5 separate regions of the Homo sapiens genome follow, and regions 1, 2, 4 and 5 are each linked to region 3. Evidence: promoter capture Hi-C in 16 types of primary human blood cells and fetal thymus (Javierre and others, 2016). All regions are on one chromosome and are shown on one strand. The core of a region is centred on a gene start or on the middle of the fragment in contact, and the rest is flanking DNA. Distances in the headings are between cores, read along the strand shown. Region 1 overlaps ITSN2 (intersectin 2). Region 2 overlaps ITSN2 (intersectin 2). Region 3 holds the start of ATAD2B (ATPase family AAA domain containing 2B). Region 4 overlaps ITSN2 (intersectin 2). Region 5 overlaps ITSN2 (intersectin 2).

Region 1 (3,149 bases), core at 488-2,987, 360 kb before region 3:
GAGGGGAAAGATCTGTAACTGAAAACTAATTGATGGGAGAAATTGAAAAAGACATAAATAAATGGAAAGATACTCCATGTTCATGTATTGGAAGAATTAATATTTTAAAAATTATCTGTACTACCCAAAGCAATATACAGATTCAACACAATATCAGAATTCAAATAGCATTTTCACAGAAATAGAAAAAGCAATTTTAAAACGTATATGGAATCACAGAAGACTTCAAATAGCCAAAGCAATCTTGAGAAAGAAAAACAAAGTTGGAAGCATCACACTGCCTGTTTGCAAATATTATGAAGCTATAGTAATCAGAACAGTGTGGTACTGGCATAAAAACAGACATAGGGACAACATGAACCTGCAAGATGTTACATTAAGTGAAGTAAGCCAAGCGCAGAAAGACAAATACGGTATGATTTCATTTATTTGTGGAGTGTATATATTTATCCATAAAAGTAGAGAATAAAATGGTGGCTACCAGGGCTGGTGAGAGAAAAGGGGATCACTGAGAGTTTGCTCAAAGGAAATCAACATTTCAGTTAGATAGGAGGAATAAGTTCAAGAAATCTATTGTACAACCTGGTGACTATAGTTAATAATAGTGCATTGTATTCTTTAAAGTTGCTAAGAGAATAGATTTTAAGTGTTTTCACCACAAAAATGGTAAGTATGTGAGGTAAGTATGTGAGGTTAATTAGCTGAATTTAGCCATTTTACAATGTATACATATTTCAAAACAACATGCGTACTATAAATACAAGTTTTTATTTGTTGATTACAAAAGACATAGATTTACAGAATAGAGAGCCTAGCTAATTAACATACACATTATGTTAATTAGCTAAATTATGCATATGTTAATTAGCTCCTTAGCCAATTTACAATGTATACATATTTTAAAACAACATGCATACAATATATATACAATTTTTTGTCAATTACAAGACATACAGACTTATGAAATAGAATAGAGAGCCCAAAAATAAACCCAAGTGTATATGGTCAACTAATTTTTGACAAGGGTATCAAGAAGACACAATGGGAAAAGGTAGCCTCTTCGATAAATGGTATTGGGAAAACTGGATATCCACCTGCAAAAGAATGAAATTGGAGCCTTATACCATACTCAAAAATCAGCTCAAAATGGATTAAACATAAGACATGAAACCGTAAAACTCCTAGAAGAAAACATTGACAAAAGCTCTTTGACATTGGCCTTGGCAGTGATTTTTTGGATATTACACCAAAAGCTCAGGAAACAAAAATAAACAAGTGGGACTTCATCAAACTAAAAAGTTTCTGCACAGTAAAGGAAACAATCAAGATGAAAAGGCAGTCTGTGGAATGGGAGAAAATACTTGTGAGCCATGTATCTGATAAGTGGTTTATATCCAAAATACAAGGAATATATATAACTCAATACCAAAAAACAACCCAATTTCAAAATGGGCAAAGGACCTGAGTGGACATTTCTCCAAAGAAGACCTAAAAATGGTAAAGAGATATTTAAAAAGGGACTCAACATTATTAATCATCAGGGAAATGCAAATCTAAACCACATTGAAATATAATATCACCTCACACCTGGTAGGATGGCTGTTATCAAAAAGATCAGAGATAACGAGTGGTAGTGAGCATGTGGGAACAAGGGAACCCATGTACACTGTTGGAGGAATGTAAATTGGTATAGTTGTTAAGGAAAACAGTATGAAGGTTTCTAAAAAAAATAAGATAGAACTCTTGTATGATCCAGCAATCTCACTTCTGAATATATATTCAAAGGAAACAAAATTACTGTCTCAAAGAGATATTTGCGCTCCCTTATGCTAAATGCAGTAAGTCAGTTACAGAAAGACAAATACTGCATGACCTCAGTTTCATATAAAATCTAAAAAAGTTGAACTCCTGTACAGAAACTGAGAGTAGAAGAGTGGTTACCAGGGGTTAGAGGGAGGGGAAAATGGGTAGATGTTGATCAGTGGGTTCAGACCAACATCTACCCATACCAGTCAGAAAGGTAGTTATATAAATTATGCAGTAGCCATAATGTAAACTACTATGGAGCAATTTAAAAGAATGAACTAGATCTGTTTGTCCTGATTGATAAGATATCTTACTAAATTGAAAACAAGTTGCATAGCAATGTAGACAATATGATTCTGTTAAAACCCATGGAAATAAAAGTTGAGTATGTACACATCTAAATGTAAATGCCTAAAAGGGGGATGAACTTGCAGTTGAAATGGAGGTGTTTTAATTTTTTACTCTGTATGTTTCATTTTATTTAAATTTTGTACTTCTGTACTTCAAAAATATGATAAAGTTAAAAACAGACATTTAAACAGATAATATTGCTATTTTAATTTATTGTAATGTATTCTGCATTATATATTTCCATCTGGTTTCTTCATCCCTGCATGAATATGTAAAAAAAGATAATATAAAATGAAACCTTCTGTTCTTACCTCCTAAAATAATGTTACTAAATAATCCAGTTAGTAATACTTACTGAATCTTTGCTGTGAATATTTCCCTGTTCTTGGGAGCACTAAGAATAAATGGAAAGCTACTTTAACTATAGTTTCTATTAATTGAGTATTAACTGTGGACCAGAGTGTACAATGGCTTTATATCCATCACCTCATTTAATGTAGCATGATGCTCATTGTATAGATGAAAAGCCTGAGGATTCGATTGGTGAAGCATCTTTCCTAAAGTAGAATTTCACTTCAGGTCCTAGTCCTTTTGAATGCAGAACCAAGGCTTACAACCATTTCCTCTGATGCTCTTTCCAGCATATAATCTGGGAAGTGGAAATAACAACTGAATGTTTTCTCTTGTACTGGTCTGCATTGTGTATACATCCTTCGTATTGGTCTAGTTACATCAATCTGACCAAACAGTAAATGACATGCTGGTAATGACATACGAACTTCTGCAAAATGTAAACTGTCTGATGTTTGTTTTTCAGATTCAGGGGTCAGTTTACTTCATAAAAAATCATTAGAAAAGGAAGAATTATGCCAAAGACTTAAAGAACAGTTAGATGCTCTTGAAAAAGAAACTGCATCTAAGCTGTCAGAAATGGATTCTTTTAACAATCAACTAAAGGTATTTATTTTTGATACTATTTATTTTTAGGTAAC
Region 2 (3,165 bases), core at 586-3,085, 340 kb before region 3:
AAACAACAGTAAAATTTTGATACACCTCAGTCCATTTCCACAATACTTTTAGTAGTATTGTATCTCTTTTAGATACATGAACCCTTTGAATCATTATTAATGATACAGTTTGTTGAAATTTTATAAGTTAAAACATTCTAAAGATGAACAAAGTAAACAATTTTATTCTTATCAAATTCAGTATATTTGTGTACTCTTCCACTGTTTTCCTTTTAGAACCATTCTGATAGATGTATAGATTTTTCTTCAGCCATCCCTGTTAACTTGCTATTCTTATCTTTTGAGACCCCCCTTTTTGTCCTTTACTTCCCTGTTATATTCAGACCTCCACAGATCAAACCAAGCCTCTCTTTGCTTGGTCTCCTTCCACTTTGTACAGCTCAGCCTGGCCCCCACTCCTGCACTTTCCTTTCTACCCATGTGTGTGCTTCATCCCGCAAGTCATCTCTTTGTTTTGCTGCCTCCTACCTTACTTAAGATGAGCATCCTTGTTTGCTTTTTTATTAGATGACTAGTCAAGATACTGAAATCCTAGCAAGTCTGTATCAAGTGGATTTTCATTGTAGTATTTGGTGCTTGATTTTTTCTTTTAGGTTTTAGAGCTCTTTATTGAGTCATAGCAAAGATGTATACATGTAAGTTGCAAATAATGACAATTGTCTTCTCTTTAGGTGAGACAGCTAGTGTTTTGGTGAATTATAGAGCATTATACCCCTTTGAAGCAAGGAACCATGATGAGATGAGTTTTAATTCTGGAGATATAATTCAGGTAGGAAATGAATTTTTTTTTTAATCATGAATAACCTAAATACATTGTAATATATTAGTTTCTGTAGTAATGTTGACCATTAATTTCATATATTTACCTTTGTAAAATGTTTCTTAAACATTACCTCATTTGGACTTTACAACATACTTCAGAGCTGCATAGGACAGTTATTATTACTAACTAAGTTCTAGCCAAGGAAGCTTAAACTCACACAAGTTGTAACTGTCAGCATTGCAGTGCCAGAATGGGATGCAGTTATGTGTTTTTTTATTTCCAAATCCAGCGTTGTTTCTGCTATGCCATACAGCAACTGTTAAAAGAATTGAAGGAGTTAGATTCCACAGCCCTAACTGGATACAGGCAATTTGTTCCTTGGAACGAAAGTCTTTATTGTGTTATCACAATCCATATAAAATACATGAATAAGAGAAGATCCCAGGAGTAGTGTTTGATAGAGCCAGTAGGACATAATGGAAAGAGTACAGGCTTTAGAAGCACACAAACTTGGATTTTAGTCTCTGCTTCTGTTTTCTTCTTGTTAAACTAATGTTAACCAGAGTATCTAGCCAGAGTATCTAGCCAGTGCCTCTTTCCCCCGCTCCCCCTGCACTGTCACCAGTTAGTGTGATTTATCAGTTAGGTGGCAAATGTTTAATGATACTAGGGAAAAAAATTTACCAAAACGCTAGCACCCAAGATAAACCCTAAACACACATTCCTGCTCTTGCCATTGCCGCTATTAGTAGTACCGGAGCTGTGCCCGAGCAGGGGGAGAGGTTTGTTCTACAACCAGCCCAAGTCCACTGTCTGCTCTTCCTACCATTCCTCCTCTCCTTGTTGGTGATGGTGTCTGGATGAAGAGATACAACCAATCTCTGGGCGTGTTTGGTCAAGAGTTTACTTATATTTTTGGTTATATTTTTTATTTATTTCAACAAATATTTTTTGAGGGCTGACTATGTTAGACTAGGGATTTAGTGAATAAGACATTATCTCTGCTCTTAACACGCTTGTAGGCTAATGAAAAAGCGTGACAACCTAAAGCAGTAGAGGAAGGAAGGTAAGGAAAAGGTTGTAGACTGCTACCAGCTTTAGCACAGACCTCTCCCATGGTCAGAGAGCCATTCTGGTGGCAGTGACAACAGAAACATAAAGTTAGCTGTGTGTCTTGGGTGCTTGTGTACTCTGCTGAATCATTAACATGAAGTATTAGTCATGAGTTACTACTGTCAGTCATGAGTTGCCTGATTTGAACAAATTGGTTAATGATGGTGTCATTTCCTAAGAGGGAAAATCAGAGGGGGAATATATAAGTAGAATTATGAGTTCAGTTTTGTATGAGTTTCAGATGTCCAGGCAGTAGTAGTTGGATCTCCAGAGTACCTAGAGAGATGTCAGGCAGCGGTCTGGGCTGAGGATGTAAATCTGGATGTCGCCAGTGTGATGTGATGGTGTTGGAAGACATGAGAGTAATGGAGCTCATCCAGGGGAGTAGTAACGTGAGAGAGAAGAGGATTGAGGATGCAGTTCCTGAGAAACATGGACACTGAAGGAATTATTAGAGGAAGTGGAGCCTTAAAAGGAGTGACTAGTAGTAGGAAAAAAAAAAAAACAGGAGAGTTTAATGTTAGGGAACTTTGAGAAGAGTGATCTGCAAGTGAAATAAAACAAGGACTAAAAAAATTATTAGATTAGCAATAGCACAGGTGTTGTTAACTTGAGGACAGCAGTATCAGTTAAGTGGACTAGTAGAGCGAGAAGCCAGATTTCAGTGAGTTGGAATAAATTGGAAGAGAGGAAGAGGAGACAGTGAATATATAAAACTCTTTGAATGAGCTTGGCTTTGAAAGGGAGAAGGAGAGAAGGTAGTAAATAATGAGAAATGTGGGTTGAGGGAAGTTTTTTTTTTTTTTAAAGTTGGCTGAAGCTTGAGCAAGTTTAAATAATAGTAGAAAGGATCTGCAGAGAGGAAACAGGTTAATGATAATGGAAAGAGTATAAATAACTGATAAAGATTGTTTTTTCTTATTAAAGTATAATTTATATATAGCAAAGTGTACAACCATAAGTATACAGCTCAAAGAATGTGTACACATCTGTGTATCTGTGAAGCCCCCCTCAGATCAGTGTGTAGAACGTACAGCATCAGGAAGGCACTTCATGTTCCTTGTCAAACCTCCCTGTTCTGACTAATAGATGGAGATGAGGAAGATTCTTGAAAAGGCTAGAAGGCTGGAATCTGGAGCCCTGGAAGAGAGTGGTAGAAGGATTGAATACCTTATCCTTTGTCATTAGAGGGCAGGAAGAAAGGGTGGGAGGGATTAAAGTAAATTTTGCTGAAGTAGAAGATGAAGTCAGGTCCCAGGACTTCCAAATTCCCGGTAAGATAGGAGGCA
Region 3 (3,115 bases), core at 89-2,588:
GGATTACAGGCATGCACCACGACACCTGGCTAATTTTTTGTATTTTTAGTAGAGAGGGGGTTTCACCATGTTGGCCAGGTTGGTCTCGAACTCCTGACCTCAAGTGATCCGCCCGCCTTGGCCTCCCAAAGTGCTGGGATTACAGGCGTAAGCCCGGCCTGTACTGTGAATTTTTGAAATGAACCTAATTCCTACTTTACAGCAGAGCTTTTCTTTCTTTCTTTTTCTTTCTTTCTTTCCTTTCTTTCTTCCTTTCTCTCTCTCTTTCTTCTTTTTTTTTTTTCTGAGACAGGGTCTGGCTCTGTCATCCAGGCTGGAGTGCAGTGGCGTGATTTCGGCTCACTGCAACCTCCATCTTCTGGGTTCAAGTGGTTCTCATGCCTCAGCTTCCCGAGCAGCTGGGATTACAGGTGCCCACCACAACACCCATCGATTTTTTGTATTTTTAGTGGAGACAGGGTTTCACCATGTTGGTAAGGCTGATCTAGAACTCTTGACCTCAGGTGATCCACCCACCCCGGCCTCCCAAAGTACTGGGATTACAGGCTTGAGCCACCGCACCCGGCCTACAGCAGAGCTTTTCATATGAATTGTGTGGCTTAATTTTTTTTTCTTTGGAAGTTAAATTGCAAATGCTTTATCTGTGGGTTCAGCTTTTTGTATTCTTAATTCTTCAGCGGGCCGGGGGCAGGGGGCGGCGATAGAGGCGGCTCTTACAGGGTACTCATTCTTTGGCTCCGCCTTAGATCTGGCTAAGGGGATAGAAAACGACCCTGCCTCGCTTTGTTTAAAAACGCAGAGTTCTAGCATGGTGTTTCCCCCCCCCCTTCTCTTCTTAAGCTTACCAAGTTCCAGATACCGCCCAGATGAATTTTTTTTTTATCACAGCTGTCATTCTCATTTCTACAGGCATGAAAAGTGCGACTCAAGTTCAGTGTCTTGCCTCGGGTAGCTTGGGGATTCCCAGTCAGCTCCTCGCGCCTTCGTCGCCGCTCCCCTTCCACCCCGCGCCTTCGCCGGCCGTCCCCTGCTCCATCCAGGCCACGGGGGTGACGGTGGGGTCTGGGGCATTCAGGCCTGGCTGGGCATGAGGGCTTCAGGCCCAATTCCACGCCCGAACTCGTCCTGATTAGTCTGGCTTTTCTGGTCGCCCCAGCCCTGCGGTCGGGGAGAGCTGGAAACCACCGAGCTGACAGCCTAGAGCGTCGCTCCCCGGCCGCCGAGCGCTGACGCCGCGCCGGGGGCGGGGCAGCTGGAGGCGGCAGGGAGAGGAGCGAGCAGCCGGGAAGGGCTGGCCGGCTTCGCAGCGCCCCGCCGTGGCTGCGGCCGGAAGCGGTCTCGTTGGCCCTGCGGCGCTGGAGCCTTGACGCACGGAGCTCGAGAGCGAGAACGGGAGAGAAAGGGGTAGAAATGGCGGCTCCGCTCGGCTCCCGCTGAGGAGGGCGAAGCCGGCGGAGTGTCTGTGCTGCCGGTCTGCAGCACCGCCCCCGCTTCCCGCACGCCGCCTGCTCACGCCGACTTCCCTTCCTCTGCCCGGCTCTCTCTTGTGCTCGTCTGCGCTCCGCACGCTCCGGGCCGGCTCGTCTCTCATTGCCCGGCTCGGCTCCGCTGGCCCTGACTGACCGGCCGGCGGGCCGGCCTTGCTCGGCTCTCCCGGGCGCGGCGTGGACTCCGTCCCCCTGGCTGGACCATGGTGAACACCCGGAAGAGCTCTCTCCGCCTTCTCGGGTCCAAGTCTCCTGGTCCCGGGCCTGGGCCTGGGGCCGGAGCAGAGCCTGGGGCGACCGGAGGCAGCAGCCATTTCATCTCCTCTCGGACCCGCTCCTCCAAGACCCGCGCCGCCAGCTGCCCCGCCGCCAAAGCCGGGGGAAGCGGTGGCGCCGGCGTCACTCTGGATGAGGCCAGGGTAAGAGCGCGGCGTCCCGAGTCCGGAGGCTCGGAAGTGCCGGCCCTGCTGCCGGGGCTTTGTCTGGCCGGGTTGGGGGTAGGAAGCCTACAGTGGAGACCGCTCGGGCGGCTGGAGACAGGGTCTGCGGGCGCGGTGGAGGGTGGCACCCAGAGAAGGGCCGCGACGCTGGCCCCTTTGCTTTTCAAGCTGGCCCGGCTCTTTTGTGTGAAGAACAGCCCTTGAGTCCAGGGGAGAGGGCTTTGGGGGTCCCTTTCGGCGTCATTCGAACGATCTGCTGTCCGTGTCCTTGTCCTGCCCCAGAGGGGAATTCTAGCGGGGAAGCAAGAGCGAAGGGCCAGAGCCCCTGGGTGGAAGGGTTGGAGAAGTGAAAGTTTTCTGCGGTGTCAAACCCTTCTTGAAAGTGTGTCAGTTCCTGCCGCTGTCTAACTCCAGCTTACTCTCAGTTTGGGGGTGGTTCAAGTTGGTGAGGAAGTGAACAGAGAGCTCCAGTTGGCAGCCAGGCAGGGATGCTGAAAAAAGTTTGTAGCTGCTCTGACACCAACTTTAAAAACAAAATCAACGCTATCGCCTCTCCAGGCAGGAGAGATCAAACATGATATTATAGCTGGGGAACCAGCCAGCTAGCTCACCAAGGTGCTAGTAGGAACCAGAGCTTTCAGGTCACAGAAGGAGCACGTCGAAAGAAACAAGTGGAATGTTTCGGATAGTCAGCACCATCATGCCAAAACTGTGTGGTTTCTTGGGTGTCTACATTTTTGTTATGGGACTATATTACAAAAGGTGAATGAACACCATAGTCATGCAGTTGCAAAAATGACATTTAAAGACGCTGGTGATTGAATTAAAAAACTGATTGAAAGATCTTGAAATTTTATTACCTACATTATAAAGCTAAGCACAGATATTTATTGTTTTAAAGGAATTGACACGTTTGTTTTACTATGAGATTGTTTCTGAATTCAGAGAAGAGTGTATTGCTTCTGTCTAAAAGAGGTTGACTTGCTAAGTAATTTGGCTGGAAAAAGCTGTTCATTTAAAATGCTCCTTTAATTCCACACCATTTTGTGGTTCTTATTGGGGGAAAGCAATATTTTATGTTCTAGGGGTCTACAAGATCGCGGTTTGTGTGTGCTTTTCTTTGTGTCTTACACTGTTTTGACACTAACAGAATGGATCTAGGCAGAGACAGGAATATTTTACCATACT
Region 4 (3,483 bases), core at 930-3,429, 310 kb before region 3:
AGTCTGTAGTTTACATTAGGGTTCAGTCTTGGTGCTGTGCATTCTGTGGGATTGTACAAATGGGTAATGACATACAGCTACCATCACAGTATCATACAGAGTATTTTCACTACCCTAAAAATCTTCTGTGCTCTACCTGTTCAGCTCTCCCTCCCTCCCATCCCCTGGCAACCACTGATCTTTTTACTGTCTCCATAGTTTTGCCCTTCCCAGAATATCATATGATTGGAATCACACAGTACATAGCCTTTTCAGATTGGCTTCTTTTACTTAGTAATAGGCATGTAAGTTTCCTCCATATCTTTTCATGGCTTGATCCTTTCGTTTTAGTGCTAAATAATATTCCGTTGTCTGGGTATACCACAGTTATCCACTCACTGAAAGATATTGTGATTCCTTCCAAGTTTTGGCAATTCTGAATGAAGCTGTTACAAATATCTGTGTGCAGGCTTTTTTGTGGACATAAGTTTTCATTTCCTTTGAATCAATACCAAGGTGTGTGATTGCTGCTGGATCATATGGTTTAAGAGTATGTTTAGTTTGTAAATGGCAAACTGTCTTCCAAAGTGGCTGTACCATTTTGCATTCCCTCCAGCAATGAATGAAAGTTCCTGTTGTTCCACATCCTTGCCAGCATTTGGTGGTGTCAGTGTTACAGATTCTGGCCATTCTAACAGGTGTGTAGTGGTATCTCATTTTTGTTTTAATTTGCATTTTCCCAACAACGTATGATGCAAAGCATCTTTTTATATGCTTATTTGCCATCTGCATATCTTTTTCCATGAGGCATCTGTTAAGGTCTTTGGCCCATTTTTTTATTTGTTTTCTTATTGTTGAACTGTTAAAAGAGTCCTTTCCATATTTTGAAAAATAGTTCTTTATCAGATACGTCTTTTGCAAATTTTTTTTCAGTCTGTGCCTTGTCTTCTCATTCTCTTGACCACATCTTTTGCAGAATGAAAGTGTTTACATTTAATGAAGTCCAGCTTATCAACTCTTTCTTTCATGGATTGTGTCTTTGGTATCATATCTAAAGAGTCATCACTAAACCCAAGGTTATCTAGATTTTCGCTTACACTATTTTCTGGGAGCTTTATAGTTTTGTGTTTCAGATTTAGGTTTGTGATGCATTTTGAGTTGATTTTTGCGAACAGTAGAGACCTGTGTCTATATTTCATTTTAAAGACAATTTCTTTTTTTTTTTTCGCATTTGGATGGCCAGTTGTTCCAGCATCATTTGTTGAAAAGAGTATCTTTGCCCCATTGTATTGCCTTTGCTCCTTTGTCAAAGGTCAGTTGACTCTATTTATATGGGTCTATTTCTGGGCTCTATTCTGTTTCATTGATCTATTTGTGTATTCTTTGGCCAGTATCACACTGGCTTGATTACTGCAGCTTTCTAGTAAGTCTTGAGGTCAGGTAGTGTCAGTTCTTCAGTTTTATTCTTCTCCTTTAATTTTTTTGTTGGCTATTCTGGGTCTTTTGCCTCTCCGTATAAACTTTTAGAATCAGTTTTAGAATCACTTTTTAAACTTTGCTTTAAAGAACAACAAATTATGAAGGACATTCTTAAGAGAGATGTTTTAAGCTTGTCAAAAGGCAAAAATCACTTACTCTTTCAAAGAGAACGATAAATGAGTGTAGTGGGAAGTATAGTGGGAGGATTGCTTTGATTCCTGTCTCAGCTAGCTCACCCCTCCGAGCCTTAGCCTGGTCTGTATAAGTGAGAATAATAATACCCACATTGCACATGAGGCTTAAGGGGTTTGTAAAGCACAAGTTTAATGTCTGACACATAATAGATACTAGAAATAACAGCTAACATTTAGTAAATATTTGCTGTGTACCAAGTCATGAACTAATCTTTGGGTTGTCTGAGTAAGTAGTAGAGTTGGAACTCAAGTCCAGATCTGACTTCAGAACTCATTCTCTTAGCCACCCCCACATGCTGCTTTCCATTAACTGGGAGCTGCTCTTAACTCCCAACCACAAAAGCAGAACAGTCATCAGTTAATTGCAAGATGGAGGGTAAAGAAAATTAACTGCTTTAAATGAATCCAAGCTGGTCAAGTTACATTCCAAGGTACCGAAGAACCTGCCACTGGGATCCCTGTGTCACCGGTGGTCATCCATTAGCCACCTGAAGTCAGAGTCAGCCAGTGCTATAGAATTTGTGTGTCCTAAACTCAGCAATTTGGGGCAAAGTCTCCAATTATGTATGTAGTCATAAACAAGTGGAAAACATGAGTTATATGAACATACCATTGGGGGAGATTAATGGTGTAATAAGCTGTTCAGTAATACTAAGAAAAAATATATATGTGCATATGAAACCCGTATTGCCCAAGGACAGAACTGTAGTAATCAGTGCACTGATACAAAGTGCTACAGTGCATGGAACAGTCTCTTTGGAACTGGCTATTAGATACAAGGTCCTAATTGTGTGTGTGACAGAGTAGAAGGGTGTGTAAGGGAATAATTATATCACTTAGACATAAAAAAGAGTTAGAGTAAGGGCCTTGTTTGCTTTTTCATTGCTTTGGGCTAATTGGCATTCAGAATATTTATCCTAAACCTTTTTTGCCTTTAGAATTCAGTTCACCAAGCATAGGACCTGGTAGGTTTATACATGGAATCTCCAGTAATTGCAGTGTAAGCATCATCTTAAATGGCCTGCCATTGGAAAGTATAAGACTTGAATCAAGTTACCTAGATTTAGATATGTAGTAGCTCTAATTTATCTGGTAAGTCTCTTCACCACTAAGCTTCAGATTATCTATTTACTTATAGAGCAGGGGTCAGAGCTGTTATCAGTTATTCGGAGGATTGATCAGGGTTTGAAAATCATCATACACATATTGGTATAGTTATTTTTATTGTTAGAATTGAAAGTTCTAACATGATGAAACTACTATTTCATATCTCTTTATAATAGTCTATATCCTGCATCTCACATTAACTCCCTCAATTGAGTCATGGTACAAGTCTGGCAGGTTAGAAGGTAATGCAGATTTTAGCCTGAACTAACTGCTCTCTGGGGCCAGGTCTGCGCTTTTGTCTATCATTAGGAGGTCATTGCTGTCTTAGGCTTATGACCTTTTACAGTAGATTCAAAAGTAAAAATAAAACCAATAAAATTTGTCTTTATCTGGTTGCACTTGTCAATATAGTTGCTTTTGGAAATTCTAGAATATGACTATTTTCTGATAGGCAAATAGTTTGCTTTCTGATGGTCTGCAACATTAGAATATGATTTCAACTTCTTTCCTTTTTGTGCTTACAGGAGCAACATAGCTCCTAATGGAGTAGAACTTGACAGGCCTCAAAAAGACATGAATTTAGAAATTTGTCCAGTAATTATTTAAATTTCCAAAAGTAAAAACAAATATCTTTGTGGTGGAAGCATGCTACCCGGTACTCAATAAATATTTGCCAAGTGGATGAAAAGCTATTCTTTTACAACATAAAATATCTTGTAACTTT
Region 5 (3,502 bases), core at 907-3,406, 410 kb before region 3:
TTTTAAGGATCTTATGCTAATTGACATTTGTATCAGCTAGGCATTAACATTGTACTTATTTTTGTATCTATTGTTATGGTTCCTTGCATTGTTGTTAGCCTTTCACTTTTTTTTTTTTTTTTGAGATGGGGTCTCACTCTGTTACTCAGGCTGGAGTACAGTGGCACGATCTTGACTCACTGCAACCCCCATCTTACAGACTCAAGCAGTCCTCCCTCCTCAGCCTCCTGAGTACTTGGGACCACAGGCACATGCCACCTCGCCTGGCTGATTTTTTTTATTTTTGGTAGAGAGGGGTTTCACTGTGTTGCCCAGGCTGGTCTTGAACTCCTGAGCTCAAGGTGATCCACTTGCCTCGGCCTCCCAAGTGCTAGGATTACAGGCATGAGCCACTGTGCCAGGCCAGCCCTTCACTATTTCATGTGAGTAAGTAATCTTCTATTTTTCCAGACCACACTAGTTACTCTGCTTTTGCAGAGTAACCTCTGCCTAGAATGTTTTCCTTCACATTCATTCATTTTAACAAATGTTTTGATGTGTAGGGCCTAAGCTGATTTGAATGCAAGCTGAAATGCACATATCTGGTTGAGTCATGGGAACTGATTTGCATGTGTCTTTCTCTTTTATGGCTTGAAGAGGAGAGAAATTTGTGCTTAGACACTTGAGGGCCTACGAGATCAAGGAGTCTGTCCTTAGCTCTGCCCTTTGGACTGTTGTCTGAGCCTAAAGAAGAGAGACAAAGAAAGCTTGCATTGGGAGGCTGAGGTGGGAGGATCACTTGAGCTTAGGAGTTTGAGACCAGCCTGGGCAACATAGGGAGACTGCACCTCTATAAGAAATTTTAAAAATTAGCCGGGCTTGGCAGCGTGCTCTTGTGGTCCCAGCCGCTTGAAAAGCTGAGGTGGGAGAATCACGTGAGCCTGGGAGGTCGAGGCTGCAGTGCACCGTGATTATGCCACTGCACTCCAGCCTTGGCAACATTGACTGTCTCAAAAAGATTATATATCTCTAAAAGAAAAAAAAATGGTAGAAGAAAATCTGTACCTTCTCAATCGCTCTTTCTTCTGCTTCTAAACTTATGTATGCCTTTGTTCATTCTTACTCCCCTTCCTGAACTTCATTCTTAGAGACAGAAATATCTGTCCCAGGTTCTAACTTCGTGTTCTAGAGCTGTCTACTACTTCTTTTTCTGGCCCTAACTTCCATTAGGTAACTTCTCTCCCATCTCCTTTTTGTAAATTAAATCTTTATTTCTTTTTTTTGTCTAAAAATAGTTTTGTTCTGTCACCTAAAAACTAAAGCCTTATAATAACTCTGCCTCCCTTTCTTAAATCTTACCTTTTTTCCTATGTATTTTTTGAGAGGAAATCTTGCTCTGTCGCCCAGGCTGGAGGGCAGTGGTGCGATCTTGGCTCCCTGCAACCTCCACCTCCCAGGTTCAAGCTATTCTCCCGCCTCACAGGCACTCACCACCATGCCCGGCGCATTTTTGTATTTTTAATAGAGACAGGGTTTCACCATGTTGACCGTGAGACCGGTCTCCTGACTTCATGTCATCTGCCTGCCTCAGCCTCCCAAAGTGCTTGGATTATAGGTGTGAGGCACCACACCCAGGCTCTTCCCCTTATTTTAAACATTTATTGCCTAATCTACTTCAATTTGGCTTCTATAGCCATCACTGTGCTAGAACTACACTCACTCCAGATTGCCAACACTAATAGCTGAGTCTTAACTTCTGTGACAATACCATTTTCTCCTTGAAACTCTTAACTCTGTATCCCGATTTCTCGTGTTTCTGAACCTCTGTTTCTGACTATTCTTGTCTCTTTTTTCTTATACATGATTTCCCTGGATAATGTCATTCACCCACATGATTACAACTACTCCCAATCCCTAATGACTACGAAATCTGGGTTTCTAGATAGAGTGTTCACTATATCTTGGACACTTCCATCTAGATGTCTTTGTAGGTGGATCAGATTAGGTGTGCTCAAAATTGAACATTTTGTTGTTCATCCCTCAAATCTAATATCTAGATTCCTACTTTCTTAGAGCTTCTATCTTGGTTAATATTACTGCTCTACAGTCACCCAAGATAGAAACCCATCTGTGATGCTCCTCTTTCATCTTCCACATTTAGCTGACCAGAAAATCCTGTCTATTCTACCTTTGAAATACCTCTTCTCCATTGCTCAAGTTCAAGTTCTCACCACCTGGACTATGCCAGTCACTTCATAATTGGTGTGTTTGTCTCAAGACTCAAAATCCAGTTTGTTCCTATACTGCTTGTCAGAGTTGTCTTCCTCTCCTCTTAAAAGACCAGTCTTCTTATATATTTTTTTATATGTACTTTCCCTGGATAATGTAATTCACTGACATTACAAGTATTCCCAATCTCTGATAACTACCAAATGTGGGTCTCTAACTAGAACATATACTATATGTGTGTGTGTGTGTGTGTTTTTTTTCCTTTTTTGAGAACACAGGATCTATAATGACACAACTTATAGACCAAATGCTGAACAAAAGAGACACAACGGGCTACATAATTCCATTCATATGAAGTACCTTAGCAGACAGAACGAATCTATGGTATTAGAAGTTGGGATCATGTTTCCCTGGTGGGACAGAGGCTGGAAGGGAGCATGAGGGGACTTTGGGGACTGCGACGATTTTGACTTTCTTCATCTTGATGCTGGGTAAACAAGTACATTCAACTTTTTTTTTTTTTTGAGATGGAGTTTCGTTCTGTCACCCAGGCTGGAGTGCAGTGACGTGATCTCAGTTCGCTGTAACCTCCACCCCCCGGGTTCAAGCGATTCTCCTGCCTCAGCCTCCCAAGTAGCTGGGACTACAAGCGTGTGCCACCATGCCTGGCTAATTTTTGTATTTTTAGTAGAGATGGGGTTATACCATCTTGGCCAGGGTGGTCTCAAACTCCTGACCTCAGGTAATCTGCCGCCTCGGCCTCCCAAAGTGTTGGGATTTCAGGCGTGAGCCACCGCGCCCTGCCAAGTACATTCAACTTTATACTGTGTTTTAAATACTGGCTCTCCATGACTTGCACAGCAATGTCCAAAATCAATAGCATGACTTACTGTTTGTCTTAAATTGTGTGATCTTGGTTACTTAATCTCTTTGGCTTCTACTTGTTTTTTTTTACATTATTTTATTTTAGAGACACTGTCTCACTTTGTTACCCAAGCTGGAGTGCAGTGACATAATCATAGCTCATTGTAACCTTGAACTCCCGGGCTCAAATGATCCTTTCACCTCCTGAGTAGCTACTTCCTGAGTAGCTAGAACTACAGGTGTGTGCCACCATGCCCAACTAAGTTTTTAATTTTTTGTAGAGAAAGAGTCTCCCTGTGTTGCCCAGGCTAGTCTTGAGCTCCTAGGCTCAAGTGATCCTCCCACTGTGGCCTCCCAAAGTGCTGGGATTGCAGGCATGAGCCGTGAACCACACCTGACCTATTTAGTTGTTTCTGAAATGAAGAGGATG

Evidence for each region. The method cuts DNA at HindIII sites, captures the fragments that hold promoters and counts their contacts. A CHiCAGO score of 5 or more calls a contact.
Region 1: a contact is called between a fragment that was not itself captured here and the fragment with the promoter of ATAD2B in region 3, in 1 of 17 cell types (M2 macrophages). The highest score is 5.5, in M2 macrophages.
Region 2: a fragment that was not itself captured here is called in contact with the fragment with the promoter of ATAD2B in region 3 in 1 of 17 cell types (M2 macrophages); the score reaches 6.3 in M2 macrophages.
Region 4: a fragment that was not itself captured here is called in contact with the fragment with the promoter of ATAD2B in region 3 in 1 of 17 cell types (naive B cells); the score reaches 5.3 in naive B cells.
Region 5: a fragment that was not itself captured here is called in contact with the fragment with the promoter of ATAD2B in region 3 in 1 of 17 cell types (erythroblasts); the score reaches 5.2 in erythroblasts.

Annotation. Positions count from the first base shown.
Region 1 is chr2:24,286,177-24,289,325 of GRCh38, reverse strand. ITSN2 (intersectin 2) reads left to right here. Exons shown (of 40, transcript NM_006277.3): 16 at 2,975-3,114. Among named protein-coding and RNA genes, the nearest start is that of ITSN2, 73 kb to the left of the region's middle. The HindIII fragment of the contact is 4,203 bases long and covers 1-3,149 here.
Region 2 is chr2:24,268,275-24,271,439 of GRCh38, reverse strand. It overlaps ITSN2 (intersectin 2), which reads left to right. Exons shown (of 40, transcript NM_006277.3): 20 at 672-769. Among named protein-coding and RNA genes, the nearest start is that of ITSN2, 91 kb to the left of the region's middle. The HindIII fragment of the contact is 1,727 bases long and covers 972-2,698 here.
Region 3 is chr2:23,925,346-23,928,460 of GRCh38, reverse strand. ATAD2B (ATPase family AAA domain containing 2B) reads left to right here and starts at 1,338. Exons shown (of 28, transcript NM_017552.4): 1 at 1,338-1,906. The coding sequence starts at 1,691. It also overlaps a transcript of UBXN2A not described here. RefSeq lists enhancers at 812-901, 488-1,404, 2,162-2,211, 1,405-2,323, 2,422-2,671 and silencers at 1,072-1,401, 1,602-1,681. The HindIII fragment of the contact is 2,488 bases long and covers 843-3,115 here.
Region 4 is chr2:24,232,001-24,235,483 of GRCh38, reverse strand. The region is part of intron 29 of ITSN2 (intersectin 2); the gene reads left to right. Among named protein-coding and RNA genes, the nearest start is that of FAM228A, 59 kb to the right of the region's middle. The HindIII fragment of the contact is 1,177 bases long and covers 1,591-2,767 here.
Region 5 is chr2:24,339,711-24,343,212 of GRCh38, reverse strand. All of the region lies in intron 1 of ITSN2 (intersectin 2), which reads left to right. Among named protein-coding and RNA genes, the nearest start is that of ITSN2, 19 kb to the left of the region's middle. The HindIII fragment of the contact is 2,815 bases long and covers 749-3,502 here.